Linked DNA regions of Homo sapiens: region 1 is linked to region 2. Evidence: promoter capture Hi-C in 16 types of primary human blood cells and fetal thymus (Javierre and others, 2016). All regions are on one chromosome and are shown on one strand. Each heading gives the region's core, a stretch centred on a gene start or on the middle of the fragment in contact. The rest is flanking DNA. Distances are from core to core; before and after follow the strand shown.

What was found. Contacts are between HindIII fragments. The CHiCAGO score rates a contact against its expected background, and 5 or more counts as called.
Region 1: a fragment that was not itself captured here is called in contact with the fragment with the promoter of NELL1 in region 2 in 2 of 17 cell types (endothelial precursors and monocytes); the score reaches 7.5 in endothelial precursors.

What each region holds. Positions count from the first base shown.
Region 1 is chr11:22,139,421-22,142,120 of GRCh38, reverse strand. All of the region lies in intron 1 of LOC124902645 (a long non-coding RNA gene), which reads left to right. Among named protein-coding and RNA genes, the nearest start is that of ANO5, 52 kb to the left of the region's middle. The HindIII fragment of the contact is 4,574 bases long and covers 1-2,700 here.
Region 2 is chr11:20,668,333-20,671,032 of GRCh38, reverse strand. It overlaps NELL1 (neural EGFL like 1), which reads right to left and starts at 1,447. Exons shown (of 20, transcript NM_006157.5): 1 at 1,255-1,447. The coding sequence starts at 1,309. The HindIII fragment of the contact is 10,998 bases long and covers 1-2,700 here.

The sequences.
Region 1 (2,700 bases), core at 191-2,690, 1.5 Mb before region 2:
TAATTCTAGCTACTCGGGAGGATGAGACATGAAAATCATTTGAACCCGGAAGGGGAAGGTTGCAGTGAGCAGAGATTGTACCATTGCATTTCCGCCTGAGTGACAGAGCGAGACTCTGTGTTAAAAAAAAAAAAATCATTTTAACGAAAGAATAAAAAGGAATTATGACAATGGCAATATTGATGATGATACGGTATGAATGGTTTTCAAGGGCAGCCTACCCTCCTCAACCTCCATCTCTGGATTCTTCTTTATTGCTATAATTTCTGGAATTTATAAAGCCGTGTTAAGTATGAGAATACACTGTAACTATGTAAGTCTATACTAATTTCATATTAATCGAACAAATTTTTGTTTTTAAATCCCACTTGATCCTAACAAACACTTTATGAGGCATTTCTCCGCTCTCCTAGATAAGCAAATAAAACCTAGTAAAAACTAGACTGGTTCAAGGCAAAAATAGTAGGCCACAAACACAAGAAATCATACAGTTGTCATATGATATAATTACTGAGAAATCATTTTTAACTTACTTATAAATTAATTTATTTGAGAAACATTTGGTGAACCTTTAAAATGTACCAAATACTGCACCAATGCTTGTAAAATGCTTAAAATATTTCTTGGCTCATAGTGATAGCTCAACAATTATTTGTCCCTATCCTCTAATTCAACAACACAATAATGATAGGGTTGGAAAAACTTGACAAAAGCATAGACAATTAGTGATTCCAAGATTGAATGAACACACATATGTCAAGGATGTAGCATATTGCTTGGTGCTTGGGAGATACTCAATTATTTTAAGTTTTGTCTGAACCACACTCACCCTTTGACTTATCAACTTAATATCAAATATTATACGAGGTAAATACAAGATTTCTTAGATTTACTGGTGGAAGGGGGATGTGGATAAGAATTATAGACACAGTTTTTGTGTGATTCTCACATTTCTTAGCTACTTCTTCAATAAAATTATTTCAAAATCATAGAACGTTAGAAATGAAAGTGGTAATAGGGAATATTAGGTTTATCTTATCAATAGGCAGTTGGAATAATGAAGTGACTTTCCCAAGGTCACATGGCAAATTAGTGACAGAAGTGGGAATAGAATTCTTGATTCACAAGAAAAAGTTTATCCAGTTAATTCACACTTAATAGTTTATACATCAAATTCTAAATTCCCTATTATTCATTGAAAAATTTTTACAAAGGGGAAAAAATGAAGGAAAACCAAAAGTCTCTATTGTATGCCATCAGGAAAAAATGGATCTTTGATAACCTTGGTTGTCTAAGGACCTTGGCATTTTTTACCATCTGAAATGCAAGTGCTATCTGGAATGCTAATCTGAGTACTGACTTTTATGTCAATGTTGAGGATGACTTAACAATACCACTGTTTGTAGAACATTTTCTGGGAAACTGAAGGACTACAACATTTTGTGCTTTGTCTTCACAATTGAAATTAACAAAGGTGGAAAATTCCAAATAAATTTTCCCTTGTATTTTCCCATAATAGGAACATTTTAAAGATGTATCCCTCATCGAGGGAATAATTATAGACTATCTGGCTTTGCCCTTTAGTGCTTGCCAAGAAAATAAGAAAAACCATTCTTTGACAAAACTTTTGAACATAGCAAAAAGACTAGAATCATTCTGCATGTTTTTTGAGGGCAGAACTAAACCTAATGTAACAAAGTGACAAAGAGGCAAGTTTTGCCTTATTTTAAGTACAAATTGTCTTGTAAGCCCCCTAGCTCCAAGCACAGTGCAAAAGATCCAATAGGTTTCCAGTAAGTATTTACTGATTTCTGCATCCAGTTTACCTGAGCTTATCTTTGTCTTGGCACTTTCATCCTATATTGCCTGCTTACTTTACAGTACCTCAATATAGACTGCGAGCTACTTGAAGTCAAGAACTGAATCTTGTTTGTTTTAGTCCATTCAGGCTACCGTTACAAAATACCATAAACCAGGTAGCCTATGAACAATAGACACTTATTTCTGTTGGTGTCTGGTGAGGGTCAGCTTTCTGGTTCATAGACGGTACATTCTTGCTGTGTCCTTACATGGTGGAAAGGGGGAATAAATTCCCTTGGGCTTATTTTATAAAGCTACTAATCCCATTTACAAGGGCTCTGTCCTTTTGACCCAATCACTCTGCAATAGGCACTAGATCTTTTTTTTCTTTTCAGGTGGAGTACCACTTACTCTATTGCCTAGACTGCAGCATAGTGGTGCTATCTCAGCTTACCGCAACCTCTGCTTCCCAGGTTCAAGCGTTTCTCCTGCCTCCGCCTTCCAAGTAGCTGGGATTACAGGCATGCACCACCACGCCAGGCTAATTTTCGTACGTTTAGTAGAGACGAGCTTCTCCATGTTAGCCAGGGTGGTCTTAAACTCCTGACCTCAAGTGATCTACCCTCCTTGGCCTCCCAACGCATTGGGATTATGGCTGTGAGCCACCGCGCCCAGCCAAGGCCCTAGCTCTTAATACCATCACCATGGAGGTTAGGTTTCAACATATATTCAATTTGTGGGGTGAGGGGATACAAACTTTCATACTATAGCATTGTTGATTAATGTATCCACAGACCTAACACAGAACTTGCCACATTTTAGCATTTAATAAGTTGTGGAATAAAGAAAAGAAAAAAAAAGAAGGAAGTAGGAAGAGAGGGAGAGAGGAGAGAGGGTGGG
Region 2 (2,700 bases), core at 198-2,697:
GAAGGGCCCTCTGAAAGCTCCTAGACGCTAGATCTTCCAGCGGGCTAACTGCCAAAGAGGGGCGCCTGGGCGCAAGCGGAGGGAACTTTTGAGCCAACCAAGTGCAGACGCCCCTTCTTAGCCCTCTCCAGATGAACTTGCTCTTTGGCCTAGAGAGAAGGCCACGCCTCTAAAGAAGGAAATAAGGATGGTAAAGGGGGGAGAATAAAGGGAAAGGGAATGACCACACAGATTCTGGGGTGCAGCGCGTACGGAGGATGGCTGGGTAGGATTGCAAACCTCCGACACTCCCCCCAGTTGACAGGCCCTATTTTTGCCAATTTCCTACATCTCACCCCACCTCACCTCACCCCAGTCTCCCCGCATCTACTACTAGCTCTTTGAAGAAGGCGGCTGCAAGCCAGTCTCCGAACCCCAGGGGACTTTTGGGCAAGGGAGCCGGTGGAAGCAGAAGGAAGAAGATGCGCTGAGAGTCCTCACAACTGCGTCTCCGGAGGCAGAACGAAGTGGGGACTTCAGACAATCAAGCGTCATCCTTGCTCCCCCCTCCCCACACGGAACCCTGCGATTATGGCAAGAGAAAACTGGTTTGAGCTTGAGAAAATTTCCCCAGATTGTCTCCACTGCTCTATTTCCCTCAGATAATTGTTCGCCCAGCCCTTGGGAGCAAAGACAGGCGGAGGAGAATACTCCTGGAGTTCTCCTGGGTAGTCAGGAAGGCACAGGAGGAGATCGCGGGATCCCAGGGTTCTCCCGCAGCTCTCTGCCCTCGCCGCACCGCGCCCTCCCGGGCCCCGGCCGCGCCCGCCAGCCGGAAGCGCTCCCTCTGCGGGTGCGACTCCCGCAGCTACCCCTTCCCAGCCTGGCGGGGGTCGGCGAGAGTGGTTTCCACAGCACCTTACAAGTTCGGGAACTCGGGGCACGCGGGCCCGCCCTGCTGCGGGTTTCGACTCCCTGGGACGGAAAGCCGGTTACTAGCAGCAAGAGGGTGCGCCTACTCGGCCGCGCCCCTCACTCCTGCGCCCCTGAGGCCGGGTCCCCTGAGAAGGGGCACTCAACGGGGACATCTTCAAGCCCGTGAGTCCCTATTTTCACCCTGTCACTCCGAGCAGGGCAAAGAGATCCCAGGAACCGGTCCACGCTACCGCCGTTCCCCAGACCAGCGCAAAGCTCGGCTCCAGGTCTCCCCACGCCGCCGTGGTCTGTGGGCACCCCCATTTCCCGGATCCCTCTAACCGCCACAGTCATGCTTACCTGTCCTGGCAGTGCACACACAGAACCACACAACTAAAATCAAATCCATCGGCATCGCTCTCGAGGGTCCCCGCCTAGCAGGGGGCACCGAAGCTAGGTGGAAGCAAATGAGCCTGGATCCTGAGGCGCGCCTGGCTTGGAGCCGCCAAACTTGCTAGCGGGCGGCGGGGGAGGTGGCTCGGCAGCGCCGGGTGCTGCGCTCGCATATGCGCCCGGGAAGGCAGCCCCGGCCGCCCCGCCCCCAGCCCGCCCCCCACCGCTGGCGCGGCGGCGGCGGCGTGGGGCTCGGGGCCCGGCCCCCCGCTGCGGCTGCGTTCGTCTGGGAGCCCGGGCAGGAGCGCGGGGTTTGGCTACTGTGGCTTGTTGCGCTCCCCACTGGGGGCCGATTCCGTTCGCCTCCTTCGCCCGCAGAACTGCGAGGATCTGGACTGCAGGCGCCGCAGCCGCTATCACCCGGAGCACCGAAGTCGGAGTCCCAGGACCTGCGGCCGAAACGAGAGAGCGGGAGGCGCACGGCGCCCCCACGGCTTCACGCGCTCCAGCCCCTCCGAGCCGCAGTCGCCAATGTTGCCCTCTTTACTTCCGCACCGCGGTGGGGGCTGCCGAAGTTGCCACAGTTCATCCCCGCCGAGTCGAAAAGCCGCCGAGCCCTCGCGGGTGGGTATTTTTCCTCGGGGGAACCCAGACCGAGGCGGCGCCACCGAGCGCGCACGGACCCCCTCGGAAAACAATTACTCGGGATTCGCTCTGTCAACTGGGTGGGGAGGGACCTGAGGGGGATGATGGCTGAGTCCCTGCTCACCGCCTGTACCTTCTGTCTCCTCTCTCCTGTTGAACCCCTATGACTGAGTACTCTCTTTGTGGGTGCAGGAAGAGGGCGCTGAGGTGGGGGTGCAGAAAAGGGGTCCTCGAGGCGGAGCGAGCTGTGGTTGGGGTTTGGGAAGTCTATTTGCAAACCTTCTCATTCTGCAGGGCAGATGCTGCCACATAGGGGTAATTCCTAACCATCTTTTTTTCTTTCTTGCGTGATTTTCTTAATGGTATTATCAAAAGCCCACTCTTCTTTCATAGTCACATTTTGGCCCCATGTGCAATTCCTCCGGGACCTCCACCTTCTTTTCCCTCTCCCACCACAACATTCTCTGGAGAGAAAAGCTGGGCTGGGCTTTGTTTTCTACTTGCCGGCAAGAAGAGAATGGGTCCTCTCCCCTCTATGCGACCCTTTCAGGACCTGACCTTCCCTATGAAGATCCCCCAAATTTAAGACTTCTGTCCCACTTCCTATTTGTCCTACTAACACCTAGGAACGTTATTTATAACTGGATATGTAGAGTCATGAAATCTGAAATGACAGCCTCTGATTTATACCAAATGAACTCCACTTAGCTTGCTCAGTCTTCCCACTCTCTCTGAAGCCCCCGCTCCCCCTCACCAGCAGTACTCCTT